Regions from separate parts of the Homo sapiens genome. Here regions 2, 3, 4 and 5 are each linked to region 1. The links are contacts of gene promoters, found by promoter capture Hi-C in blood cells and fetal thymus (Javierre and others, 2016). All regions are on one chromosome and are shown on one strand. Each heading gives the region's core, a stretch centred on a gene start or on the middle of the fragment in contact. The rest is flanking DNA. Distances are from core to core; before and after follow the strand shown. Region 1 holds the start of WWC2-AS1 (WWC2 antisense RNA 1). Region 2 overlaps DCTD (dCMP deaminase). Region 3 has its middle 3.0 kb from the start of DCTD. Region 4 holds the start of LOC105377577 (a long non-coding RNA gene). Region 5 has its middle 37 kb from the start of DCTD.

What was found. Contacts are between HindIII fragments. The CHiCAGO score rates a contact against its expected background, and 5 or more counts as called.
Region 2: a contact is called between a fragment that was not itself captured here and the fragment with the promoter of WWC2-AS1 in region 1, in 1 of 17 cell types (megakaryocytes). The highest score is 6.0, in megakaryocytes.
Region 3: a fragment that was not itself captured here is called in contact with the fragment with the promoter of WWC2-AS1 in region 1 in 4 of 17 cell types (megakaryocytes, erythroblasts, M1 macrophages and 1 more); the score reaches 16.5 in megakaryocytes.
Region 4: a fragment that was not itself captured here is called in contact with the fragment with the promoter of WWC2-AS1 in region 1 in 10 of 17 cell types (megakaryocytes, erythroblasts, M1 macrophages and 7 more); the score reaches 34.0 in megakaryocytes.
Region 5: a fragment that was not itself captured here is called in contact with the fragment with the promoter of WWC2-AS1 in region 1 in 2 of 17 cell types (megakaryocytes and erythroblasts); the score reaches 8.5 in megakaryocytes.

What each region holds. Positions count from the first base shown.
Region 1 is chr4:183,239,260-183,241,967 of GRCh38, reverse strand. It overlaps WWC2-AS1 (WWC2 antisense RNA 1), which reads left to right and starts at 1,334. Exons shown (of 2, transcript NR_126473.1): 1 at 1,334-1,444. It overlaps WWC2 (WW and C2 domain containing 2), which reads right to left. Exons shown (of 23, transcript NM_024949.6): 5 at 1,706-1,785. The HindIII fragment of the contact is 11,540 bases long and covers 1-2,708 here.
Region 2 is chr4:182,896,542-182,899,249 of GRCh38, reverse strand. The region is part of intron 3 of DCTD (dCMP deaminase); the gene reads left to right. Among named protein-coding and RNA genes, the nearest start is that of DCTD, 19 kb to the left of the region's middle. RefSeq lists an enhancer at 1,121-1,621. The HindIII fragment of the contact is 1,275 bases long and covers 696-1,970 here.
Region 3 is chr4:182,919,068-182,921,775 of GRCh38, reverse strand. No RefSeq gene overlaps it. Among named protein-coding and RNA genes, the nearest start is that of DCTD, 3.0 kb to the right of the region's middle. RefSeq lists an enhancer at 2,426-2,475. The HindIII fragment of the contact is 2,831 bases long and covers 1-2,708 here.
Region 4 is chr4:182,935,658-182,938,365 of GRCh38, reverse strand. LOC105377577 (a long non-coding RNA gene) reads right to left here and starts at 941. Exons shown (of 3, transcript XR_939536.3): 1 at 786-941. The HindIII fragment of the contact is 5,264 bases long and covers 1-2,708 here.
Region 5 is chr4:182,952,699-182,955,406 of GRCh38, reverse strand. No RefSeq gene overlaps it. Among named protein-coding and RNA genes, the nearest start is that of DCTD, 37 kb to the right of the region's middle. The HindIII fragment of the contact is 3,427 bases long and covers 1-2,708 here.

The DNA of each region.
Region 1 (2,708 bases), core at 85-2,584:
TGCTTGCAAGCAAACTGCTTTGAAACAATACAGCATTGTTACATCAATATAACAAAGACAGCAAGTTTGGCTAACCTTTAATCCCAAATGGTGACGCGAGTTATAATTTCATGTGCCTTAAAAATGTGGAACATATGGCTAAACACGTTACGGCACTCTTCAAACTCTGTTTTCTCTCCCCACCCCCACCACGAAGCCCTGCTTTATGCTGATAAACAATTACTAAATAATGCATTTATGTCATTCTAGTTCTGCCTGGTTTATCGGGGAGCTCTGCAACCAGCTGAGGTTCTTACAACAGGGCTGGACTTGAGAAGCACTTGGGATCTCATAAAATATACCTGGCATAGAGACTAGAAACATTATTTTTCTAAGCACTCTCCAGATTATTCTAATATGCAGTCAGGTTTGAGAACCACTAGGATGGGAGCATCTGAAGGAGTATCAGGGTCATGATTCTATGCGGTAAGCAGGAAAAAAGGAGTCTGGATGATAACAGCACGTGTGAAATTAAAGTCATGCGTCTGACTGGTGGTCAAGAGCAGTGCCTGCGTATCCCAAGATATGACTAATCACCCAAACAAGAACAACCAGTTTGTTTATCTGGCCAGTGACACACAGGATCTTTAAAGGGGCTTGCTGCTTGGAGCATCCCAAATAAGAGCAGAAGGTAAAGTAAGATTCCACAGGGAAAAGGAACACAGCTGGGTACTTTCCACAGAGGTGGCGCCTGAGACCAGCTTGGCATTCCTGAGGTGCTACCACGGGAGATGCCGGGAAGAACACGAAACCTGCCTGAACACAAAACTGACCAGGGACATCCCTAAAAATACTGCACCGCACTTGGAGGCACCAAGCAGGAGGGAAGTTTTAACTCCTCTCCGTGGTCATGTGGCTGTGAAAACCATGGACTGCTTCTCTCCCATGAGAGGCCCTGTGGAGTGGAGACTGCAGGATTAGAAAGTCTCAGGTGTGCCTGTCACGGTTTGGATAGGCTGGGCCTCAGCAGCAGGGAGAACAGTGGCTTTCAGGGGCCGGGAATGCGGAAGGGATATCCTCATCCTGTGACCCTCTGTCACCTCCATTTCCACTTTACCTGGCCCAGCTTAGGGCTCTGCTAACGGCCCAGCCAACTTCAGTAGCAAACGGGAAAGGTAGAGGAACCAGGAAGTGAGGAGCGCACTCCCGCTCCTTTGCTAATAATCCTAACTTGCTCTTGCTCCCCTGCCATCTGTCAGGGTTAGACTCTAGGTCATCCCTGGGGCTGGCAGAGAGAGAGAGAGAGACAGACACGCCTCCACCCAAGGGCCCAGGGCAGCTGCAGGCTCACACAGGGGTCAAGTACAGCCAGCCCAGCCGAATGTGGAGAGGAATTTCTTGTGCCTAGTCTCTTAGCTCTGTACCACAATCTCAGAGGAGGCCAGCAAGGGTCCAGGAGATAAAGGTAAGACAAAGGCTTTTCACTTTGGTTTCTTTGGATCTCCAATGATTAATAAAAACTTTGGATCTTTTCAAGTGCATAGATCTTTCCCAAGTTTTTTTATCTGTTGGTTGATTGCTTTATTTTCTTTTGGTGTAGAGCTCTGAACTTTTTTACTTTACGTTTCTTTAAGAAATCGCTTATGTAATCTGTACTTCTATTTTCTTTGTATTCATACTAGTTAGGGAGCTTATTCTAAAGTTGATTCAGTCTTTTCATACTCACTGCTGCAATGTTTCAAAGCCTTGTTCTTTATAGAGCAGTTCCTGCTTCATCTGTGAGAGCTCTCTCTTTAGCTTTTTAACCTTTAAAGAGAAATCAACATAAACATTAATGTTTGCAGATAATTAGCAACACAGTCTACAGTTTTAAAAGATAATAAATTAGTAAACAAACACATAAACAAAGCCATGAGTTAAAGTAACATTTACTTTATCAGTTTCTCCTTCACATAAATTCTGTGGAAGGCATATTAATGATGTTTAAAACTATCAGTGATGTGTATTATTACTACTATTTACCTTCATTACCTTACTTAGCAACATTCTTATGAGCTGGACATCATCATTGTCTCCAACCAAAATGGGCAGAATAAGAACTCCAAGTCATGGCATCTCTATAAAAGTGTGTGTTTTTCCTTCATTCACTGTGCCAAGGGCCACTGCCCACCCCTCCGTTCCTCAGATGTCCTGGCAGTTCCTTCTGCCTGGAAAGCTCTCCCCAGATCTCCCGCAGTTGACTCCCTGTCCCTCCAATGCTAGCTGAAATGTTATCTTTTCAAATAGGACTTCTCTAGCCCCCCTGCCCCTGCCACGGCTCTGTTTTATTTAGACCAGAGTATTTTTCAGGAGCTGAAATTCTCCGTGTACACTGTCTGTCCTCCGTGGGAAAGTAAGCTGCAACCCACCAGCTGTATCCCAAGCATCTACAACCATGCCAAGCAAACAGCAGATGATCAATAAATATTTGTTGTCAAACTGATAAAATATATTTTTCCTGTTGTCAAATATATACTTTGGTAATAACAATTCTAAAATTGGACAGATCAGAAAAGCAGCACACGCCTGGTTTAGTCACAAACTAATAAAGGTCTTCTCACAAGGGTTAGAAACTTACTTCCATATATTAAGTTAGAGCCTTAAGTTTTTTTCTGTTGTTTGTTTGTTTTTTTTTTGAGACAGAGTCTTGCTCTGTCGACCAGGCTGGAGTGCGGTGGTGCAATCTCGGC
Region 2 (2,708 bases), core at 84-2,583, 340 kb after region 1:
ATAGAGAGGAGTCCAAAGAGAGCAGGTGAATCAAAAGGTTCCAGGCCAGAAGAGACCTTGGGTTTTCATGATGACGAGACCCTCCTGTGGCCTGTGGAGCTGGCTCTCATCAGGTCATCAGAGCCAACTGTGCGCATTGCTTCCCAAGTACACGTCATGTTGGGAGTGGGAGATTGGCTGTGTGAAAAAATGTCTACACCACGGAAATTGGCAGATATATGGTGACCCAGCAAACACAGTTGACACCTGAAACATAATTTTTAGGAATAGTATTTAACCTTGTATGCGGGATCCATTCTGACCTCTATCCTTCCCTTCTTACCTATTTCATTAAAACAGAAGAAAAAGCTGGTGTAACTCATTGAACTGATTTCATGACCTGCAGTTTGAAAAACATTATTTTAGAGAAAACTGGGGATTATGTATGCCTTACAAAGTCAGAAGACAATTATTTTAAAAATAAATTATAGTAACAATTGTAGATAGGATGATTTCATCTTGAAAGGAGGAAAAAAAGAATCCTAAAAGGCTGACAAGATGACCTCTCTAGACTAAGGACTAAGTATGCATGCTTACAGGAGAAGAAAAACGAGCAGAGAGAAGCGGGAGCCCTCAGAGATGGAGGGAGGAAGGGGCTGGGAGCACGGCCTTGTGTTTGCCTGGGGAGAGGAGGCCGTGTTTTGATAGTGAAAGCTTGTTTTAGAGAAAGTCACCTGTTCTGGAGGATTGAGGAATGAAACTGGAAACCTTAGGAAAAAAGCAAAGACATCGGATGTACTTGGTATTTTTTAAATTGCTTTTATTTAGTTAGCTGGAAATGCACTTTCTCAGATCCACTGTCACTCCTGCAAATTACAAGAGCGCTCAGCCACCCTGTCGAAGGTCATCCGGCTTCCAAGCAGCAAATTGGACCTTGAGCCCTCGTGCTGCCCTTGTTGCAAAGCTCTTTGTCCACACTCGCTGGCAGAGGTGGAGAGTACAGAGGGGAGGATGCTTGGCCTGTGGTGGTCTGGCCAGCCAGGGCAGGCATGAGCTCGTCACAGGCCAGGCAGTCATCGAGTGCTCTTTGTGGCCTGAAGTGGATTTGGCAGGTGCCTGTTATTTGATCAGTGTCGATGGCCAGTCGACACAAGTAAATGAATCCCCAAACTTTACTCTGACCCACCTGCTTTAAACAAATTGGAGGAAGTCATCAAGTTAGTTTCCCTAGTTTCCTCTCTGAGGACAGTCTGGGGGCTGAGGCCTGGCTGAGTCCTGTCTCCTCAGGACAGGCCCAAAAGGAGGTACAGGGCGGCCTGGGGGACAGCAAGGTTCAGAGTTTCAGGGCTATGGAGATCCTGGAGCTGATAGACGAGTGTCAGCCACAAAGGTGAAGCTGGATTTCAGGACCACAACAGGCGGCAGCTGGGAGTTACGAAGGGGGCAGGGCTGGGTTGCGGCCTCAGGTGCTCCTCTGGGTTGGGGCTTCTCTCCTCAGCCCCGCAGGTGCGGGTCGGGCAAGCCTGTGATCATAAGACAGGGCTGAGGGGGTCTGGGGAAGGGTACGGGAACCAGCAAGAGAGACCAGGGTGGGGCTGATCTTACACCCTCCACCGAACACTTGAGTTTCCTGCTTGTCAGTGTCCACTTTTGCGTATGTGGGATTTTGGATTGTTCCTTTTAGAGTCTCATGTGTACCCGACACACTACTGTTCATATTGCCCAGTAGCTTTATATATATGTAAATATATATATATATATATGGGTGCTAAATATTTATCAAATGAATAAAGGAGGAAATGCAGATTCCAGTTATTCATGGTGATGTTGGGAAGTACTGAAAGTCCTCTTAAATTCAAATATCAGAAATATGCTCTCCCATCTAATAAATACTTTTTGATGGTGCTGGTATTAATATTCAGATATGATATATATTTAATATTTATTTTTAATATTAATATTCATATATATATATTTTTTAACAAGAAGCTTTACATTCTTCATCTTGTGATTTTTTGGTTAAAAGAAAGGAAGTCTGTTTATAATGCTGTGCATTATTTCTATAAATCGCCCTCTGTACACAGGGATGTCAGATGCTGCCCAAGAGAATCTGTTTCATATGGTAATTTTCACTAATGAATCCAGACCTATACTGTTAAATTTTGCCCCAAACTGCCTGGGATGAAGTAGAGGAAGCTCATGGCAGTGAGCGTGACAGTTCTTAGAGGACGCTATCATAGTGTTTCATAACAGATGCAGAGGCTCTGCAGTTCTGAATATTAATACCAGCACCATCCAAAAGTATTTATTAGATGGGAGAGCATATTTCTGATATTTGAATTTAAGAGGACTTCCAGTACTTCCGAACGTCACCATCAATAATTGGAATCTGCATTTCCTCCTTTATTCATTCGATAAATATTTAACACCCATTATGTTCATGGCATCACATTAGACTCTGGGGGAGTTACAAAGAACCTAGGCTGGGCTCTGCCCTCAAGGGGGAAATAAAAGAAACAATTACATGTAATTGTTTTTAACACCAAGCAGCGTGAAACCCAGCTCTGGAGCAGCCTGGTCACAAGGGGGAGAAGAGGTCACGGGAGCCCCTCCAAGGCCAGCGCACATGTGGCCATACCTTGTGCCTTCCCAAGCCCGGGCCCTCGCACCCTTCTCTTGTCTTTCCTTGTCCTCCCATGCCGTCAGGGTTTATGAGACCTGCAAGTCTC
Region 3 (2,708 bases), core at 138-2,637, 320 kb after region 1:
AAAAGTAAGAATGATTGGCACTTGGTAACTTACACAGAAATAGAAAGTGGTACGAGAAAATTGCCCATTTCTTTTAGATTTAATATGTTTTTTTTTCTTTTAAGAAGCAATAAGACATGTAATTTCCATCCACTTCAACCAGTTGTGTATGAAAGAGGCTACAAGTTCAGCTCTGTAGAAGCAAAGAAGTCATGGGGAGAGGCATCACACCAGGAAAGAGGAGACAGCCTTCCCCTCCGCCTTCAGCTCTGCTGTACGAGAGATGGTCATTTTCAGGCCAAGCCCCAAATCCTAGGACTGAGATCCATGCCTCCTTAAAATGATACTGTTCACTCTTGTTTCCCTGACCCACCAGCCCCAATGTCTCACTTATCAAATGTCTCTCCAGGTCTATGAATTGCAAGGAGAAAAAGGAGGCGGATAGGGAAGTAGAACCAGAGTTCACAGACAAAGACTTCTCTCTATGAGTTAGATGCTCCAAACAATTTGGCATAGAACAATGATTTTCTATTAACTCATTTATTTAGTCAACAAATATTTATTAATAAAAAACGGCAAAACACCCAGCTTTGTGCATATGCCATGTTAACATTTCCTTATTGATCTTCATTGAAAAAAAAGATTTTTTTTTTTTTGAGATGGGGTCTCCCTCTGTCACTCAAGCTGGAGTGCAGTGGTGCAGTCACAGCTCACTACAGCCTCAACCTTCTAGGCTCGAGCAATCTTCCCTCCTCAGCCTCCTGAGCAGCTGGGACTACAGGCATGCACCACCATGCTTGGCTCATTTAAAACTTTTTTTTTTTTTTTTTTTTGCAGAGACTGGGTCTTGCATAGCCCAGGCTGGTCTCAAATTCCTGGGCTCAAGCGATCCTCCCACCTTGGCCTGCCACTTTGCTGGGATTACAGGAGTGAGTTCATTACAACAAACCCGGCCCTTCATTGTAATTTTGAAGATGTATAATGACAAAGTAATTGGTGGCTTCAACTCATAACAAAAACGCTGTTTAGGGATCCTGATTTTTTTTCTGATAGGAGTGCTCTGTCATGTCAATTTGCAGTCTGTATGCCCTTCATGGAACACAAACAACTGACCTCATGCTCTAACATACATACGAAAATGTATATACAGGTTGAATATCCCTTCTCCAAAATGCTTAGGACCAGAAGTGTTTCAGGTTTTGGATTTTTTCAGATTTGGGAATATGTGCATATATGTAATGAGGTGTCCTGGGGATGGGACCCAAATCTAAACACAATATATATTTATGTTTAATATACACCTTACATACATAGCCTGGAAGTAGTTTGACAGGATATTTTTCATAATTTTGTGCACCTATCACATGAGGTCAGGTGTGAATTTCCCACTTGTGGGAGTGTCAGCACTCAAAAAGTTTCAGATCTTAGAGCATTTTGGATTTTGAATTTTCAGGTTAGGGATGCTCAACCTGTACTGTATTGATAAGACCACATATTTATTTTTTTCTAGAATTTTCATTGTGACTTTTTTGTGGTTTAGCAGACTTACAGTCATCCCTTACTTAAGATTTAAAAAGAGTTTTCTCTAGTTTGCACTTTAGCATGGAAACATAAACAATTATTCCTTTGAAAACCAGTCAAAGTGGCACTTTGCCTCTAAGTGCAGTTGTTATGCAAAGGAGTTTTTGGTCCTGACTGACAACCACCAAATTAAGAACAACAGGCAGTTTATAACAACATTTACTATGTTCACTGGGCCAGCAATAAGGTTCATTTTTTTCTGTGTTTATTTGCGGAGAGGGGAATGTGAGGGCAAGAACTGGCTTATAGTATCCATCATGGTATTTACAGCACTTAGCACATAGCAGGGAATTAATAAAAAATGAATATTGTTGATTTTACAGAGACTCCAAGAATGGAAGTAGCTTCTCAAGGTTACTCGGGTTGTAAGAAGTGGGAGTAGGGTTCAAAGTCTGGTCTGACTCCAAGGCCGGTGCTCTTTCTCTCATGACAAACTTGATGGACAGATTGGCCACCTTCCTGACTCCTTGCCTCTGTTTCCCCAGTCACAGGTCTCATCCTTACCTTGGCAGGCAGAGGAGGTGGAAGGAGGGGCAGGTAGTATCTCGGTACGGCAGACATTTGCAAATGCCATCAACCCCTCTTCTGAGGCAGCCCTGGAAGAGTCTTACCTTGACTTCTGTTTTTAATCGGGATCCCCTACCTAAGGCACACTGAAATATTAATATATTCCAGGTTATGCTCTAGACTAGACATAGATAGCACGAAACCCCATAAACAAAAGGGCCAAGACAGTAGTCCTTAGGAATGTGCTGATTGGGTTCAACCTGTGTGAGGCCCTCAAGGAAGGCCAATCTAGATAGGGCTGAACACATACCTAACCTCTGTATCTGTAGTAGGTGGAGAAAGATCCTCAATTATAAGCCCAAATACAAGGTATTAGCAAGAGAGATTTAACACCTACAGTCACACTTGGAGTTACAAGGTGTTAATGAGAAAGACATACCAAGGAATATATTTCTCCCCCCTTTGGCCGCGTGGCTTCACTATTGGTGTACAATATTTGAAACCTCAAGTTGTGAAACTCTGAACCAGGAGGGTTTCCTGTATTATGAATGATGTCATCTTTAAGATGAGGGACTTTCAGTGAAATGCGGGAACATTCAGGGTAATGTGTTTTCAGCAAGCAGGAGCTTGAATTTATGGCA
Region 4 (2,708 bases), core at 113-2,612, 300 kb after region 1:
CGAGGGCACGCGACAGCGGGCCTGGAGTGTGGCCTTGCCCTCTGCCCAGGCCGGCTGCAAATCTCTGCTGCCCCCTGGAGTCCACGCTGAGCACAACCCTGAGTGTCCTTGAAGTCTGAGTCCTGTCAAGGACCGAGTTGTGTCCCCTTCCGCCAAAATTCACATGTTGAAGCCCTAACCTCTAATGGAACTGTATTTGGGGATAGGGCCTCTAAAGAGGTAATTAAGGTAGAAGAAGGTCTTATGGTTAGGACTTAATCTAATATGACAGGTTTCCTTAAAAGAAGAAATTAAGACAAACAACAGAGACCTGGTCAGGACAGGGAGGGAAGGCAGCTGTCTGTCTGCAAGGCAGGCAGCTGTCTGTCTGCAAGGCAGGCAGAGAGACCCCAGGAGAAACCAACCCTGCCGACACCTTGATCTTGGACTTCCAGCCTCCAGAACTGTGAGAAAATACGTCTGTTGTTGAAGCCACTGGTCTGTAGTATTTTGTTATGGTAACCCCAGCAAACTAATACAGGGCTGCTTTGAGCTCTTTCATTCTCTGTTCTCTTTTTCTCATCTGTCTCTATATCTACCTTTTTGTCACACTCTTTGAACTTTAAGAAAGAGATACTTTACCTCCAGCCTCTAAATCTCTCTTGCTGCCTGGGAGGTAATTTACTTCTAAACATATCCAATTTTTCTTTGTCTTTCCAGTCTTTAAGAAAAGGGGGCAGGATTTAGATAATAAGTAGATCTTAAGTAACATTCTTTTCTTTACCTTGTATTATTTTCATACTCACCCTTTCCAAAAACTAGGTTCCTTTGTGGCTTGAGCTATGCAGCTGGCTCTCAGGTCAGCCTGCAGGACACGAGGGCAGGAGGTGGGTGTGTTTGCATCAGAAAGAACATGCTCTCACTGTGACTTCACTACAAACATTAGTCTTAAACAGTGCTTCTCAAATAGTCTGGGAGGGAGGACCTGGGATTTCCCCACGATCTGTACCGAATCTATATTTTTTGTCAAATAAGATCAAGGGATTTCTAGAAAAAAAATGAAGACATACAAAATACAGGTCCCAGGTTTTTATTATTAGATTCAATAGACAGAGAATTACTCTGTCCGATTGCTTTAATTGTTTCTAAACGGTTACTTTCAATGTCTGTACTTTTCACACACACTCAACATGCAGTGCAAAGACAGACACTGGTCTATGGAGCACGCTTTCAAGACAGCTGGCCCAAAGGGTGGTGCCAGTGATTTCCATTCTTTCTCATTGGTTTTAATAATCTCACTCAGAGTCAGCTGAGCTGTGTGTCTGGAAGAACTTCTCCCAGACTTTCTCTCTCTTTTTTCTGCCCCCTGCCTTCCTGTTGGGGTTCATCCCACTGAACTTTCCTTCATGGTCAAGGCTGGGGAGAAGGTGGTTATTCCTGAGGGTTCCTGGGGAGACCTGCAGTGCTCTAGAAGTGCAAGCTCAAGTTTCTCGGTTCCTCTGAGTGGAGCGTCTAGAAGATGGAACGCTCTCTTGCTCTATGACAGCCTCTGCCATATTTGACTCTTTTTTTTTGAGATGGAGTTTTGCTCTTGTTGCCCAGGCTGGAGTGCAATGGCTCGATCTCGGTTCACCGCAACCTCCGCCTCCCGGGTTCAAGCGATTCTCCTGCCTCAGCCTCCTGAGAGCTGGGATTACAGGCATGCACCACCACACCCTGCTAATTTTTTGTATTTTTAGTAGAGATGGGGTTTCTCCATGTTGGCCAGGCTGGTCTCGAACTCCTGACCTCAGGTCATCCACCCGCCTCAGCCTCCCAAAGTGCTGGGATTACAGGCGTGAGCCACTGCACCTGGCCATATTTGACTCTTGATCACTCTTACTTTCCTGCAACCTCTCCTTTGTCTCCTTCTTGATATCAGTCTGTCCATGGGCAGCCAGACTGGCAATATGTGAGAGGAAGCTGCAGTAACAGCTTTCTGGGTACAGGAACTTCTCCACCATCTGTTATGGTAAGTGGGAGAGCAGAGTGATGGGCAGAAATTCAGGGAATGGAATCATCTGGAACTCCTGAGGAAGTATGGAGCCAAGAGCTACATCATTCACTGGAATAAACCTTCCCCAGGGAAGTTATTGTCACATAGTATGTTTAGTTTATTGTTCAATAATAAACAGAAGGTTGCAAGACAATAATCTTTAGGCTGGCATATTAAGAGTGTGGATGGCTAAAGCCAAGCAGAATGGACCCTACTCAATTTCCCATCGCTACCTGGACAACAATCCTGCCCTGCCTCTCATCTATCTCATGACCAATACATACCAATTGGCACCTAATAAGGTCAGTTTTGTGAGGCTGGATTCCCCTGGAACTATTCCAACTGGTTTAGAATGAGCATAAGAGGTCACCATGCCATTTTTTTTTCCCATGCAAGTGCAGCCTACCTCAACAAGAAAACATCCTATCCAACCAGGGCACCTGGTTTCTAGAAGAGGTGGATGCGTGTGCCACTTCTGTTTTCTTGGAGGACCAAGATGCAAGGTACTCCCAGAGCAAAAGGGATCCTTTTGTATGGTCAGGCTGTAACAGATGTGGGTGAGTCTGGTATGGGCCTAAGGAAGTAACTCTGACACTAGTTGATTCCAAAGAAATATTGTTCCGCAATAAACATACGTGTGCATGTGTCTTTATAGCAGCATGATTTATAGTCCTTTGGGTATATACCCAGTAAT
Region 5 (2,708 bases), core at 84-2,583, 290 kb after region 1:
CAACAGGGCAAAAGTCCCTCCAAAGGCTCTAGAAGAGAATGCTGTGCTTCCTCTAGTTTCTGGGGTCTTCATGTGTCTTGTGGCAGCGTAACTCCCATTTCTACCTCCTTCTCTACGTGGCCTTTCTCTTCTTCTTCTTCTTTTTTTTTTTTTTTTTTTTTTTTTTGAGACAGGGTCTTGCTCTGTCACCCACGCTGGAGCGCAGTGGCACGATCTCGGCTCACTGCAACCTCCGCCTTCTGGGTTCAAGCAATTCTTGTGCTTCAGCCTCCCAAGTAGCTGGGATTACAGGCCTGCACCACCACGCCAGGCTAATGTTTGTACTTTTAGTAGAGATGGGGTTTCGCTGTGTTGGCCAGGCTGGTCTCCAATTCCTGGCCTCAAGTGATCCACCCACCTCGGCCTCCCAAAGTGCTGGGATTACAGGTGTAAGCCACTGTGCCTGGCCCCCACATGGCCTTCTTGTAAGGACACCATTCATTGGATTTAGGGCCACCCTAATCTAGTATGACCCAATCTTAACTAATTATGTCTGCAAAGACCCTATTTCCAAATAAAGTCACAGTCGGAGGTTGATGTAGACATGAATTTGGGGGATGCTGTTCAGTATAGCGCAGGAGGGTTAGGTAGCATTGGGTCTGGGTGGCTGGGTTTGACAGCTCACTTGTGGCCTCTGTACTAGCTCAAGCCTGATCTCAAACACACTGCTCCCTCCCATCATACGGTGGAATCCTGCTGGAATCACCAACAGTATGTCTGGTGGTTTGCTGGCTCCTAAGAGGCAGTTCTGGTGTCAGCATCACTTGATGTCCCATGTGAGACACTCAGTTTTCACCAGGGTCAGGGTCCCCTAGCATGAAAGGTGCTGCTTTTCGAATGGTGTATACTTTCATCTGGCAGATGACATGGCCTTGCTCCAGGATTCTAGGGTTCTGTGCTGTATCGCTTCTACAGGGAATTTCCAGAGACTTCATGTAACGTCTTTGTCTACTGTAGATACTTCCAGAACCAAGGGATCTTCCAGGACATGAGGCCCAAGCAGCAGTCCTGTTTGCCTCCTAGGCTGAATCTGCTTCAGAGCGCTCTCTTGTTCTGGACCCCAGCCAAAACCAGCAGCACTGAGCCAGCCAATAAGTTGGTCATAGAGATGATCCCAAGCATGGAGTATGCTGCTTCCCAAACCAAAGAGGCTTACTAAATATTGCACTTTTTTCTGCATGGGCCAAGATATAAGGCGAAATAACTTGTTTTTTACCTTGGAGGGGATATTGCAACACGCCCCAGATGACTGGACTCCTAATAACTGCAGCATTGTGTGAGGCACCTGAATCTTTCTAGTCTCTCTCTCGTCCCCTGGAGCACGTGTGTCCTACCAGGGTGTCTAGGATATTTATCACTTCCAGCTTATCAGGTCTGATGAACACAATGACATCAATAAAGTAGACCAGTGGGCTGTTCTATGTAACAGCAGAACTCTTCTGACTGTATTTTCAGAAGTAACGTAGCCCTGAGACAGGGCCATAAATGTTCACTGTTGTCCATCTAAAGTGACTGCAGTCTGCTTCTGATCCTACTTCCTGATGGGTGTGAGAAAAGAACACATTTGCAAAGACAGTGATCGTCTGTTCTAGAGAAGACACTTCTGGATTAACAGCTTCCATTGGGGCTATCACCTAATTATATTTGTAGAAGTCTACTGTCATCTGTCATGAGCCATCTGGTTTTTACAGGGGCTAGACTGGTAATAAAATGGGGATATAGGCCAGGCGTGGTGGCTCATTCCTGTAATTCCAGCACTTTGGGAGGCCAAGGTGGGTGGATCACTTGAGCCCAGGAGTTCAAGACCAGCCTGGGCACCACAGCAAAACCCTGTTTCTACCAAAAAACAATACAAAAATTAGCTGGGCATGGGGGTGCGCACCTGTGGTCCCAGCTACTCAGGAGGCAAAGGTGGGAGGATCGCTTGAGCCTGGGAGGTCAAAGCTGCAGTGAGCCAAGATTGTGCCACTGCACTCCAGCCTGGGCAACAGAGCTAGACCTTGTCTCAAAAAAAAAAAATGGGGATGTAATGAAGACCACCACCCTTGTATCCTTTAAAGTCTCCGAAGATTGTCTTAATCTCTGCCATTCCACCTGTTATGTTGTGCTGTTGTTTCTGATTGGCCACCGCCTGCTATAAGTAGGATACTACTCCTCTTACTTCACAAGTCACAGAGTCAAGTGGGGATATTGCTAGTGGCTCAGTGTGCCCACCCAGGTCATGGATTCTGGAACCAGGATGATGACCACCAAATGAGTGTGAGGGAGCCCCACTGTAAGTGGGCCTAGGCTAGAACCCCATTTTTTCACATTGTCTACATATGGTCCTACTAATGAGGGGGCATGATGACACTGGCATTGTTCGCTCAGCTGACCTCTACTTTTTCATCAGCCATTCTTTTTTTTTTTTTTTTTTGAGGCAGAGTCTCGCTCTGTCACCCAGGCTGGAGTGCAGTGGCGCGATCTTGGCTCACCATAACCTCTGCCTCCCGGGTTCAAAGAATTCTCCTCCCTCAGCCTCCCGAATTGCTGGGATTACAGGTGGCCGCCACCATACTCAGTTAATTTTTTTGTATTTTTACTAGAAACGGGGTTTCACCATGTTGGTCAGGCTGGTCTTGAACTCCTGACGTCAGGTAATCCACCCACCTTGGCCTCCCAAAGTGCTG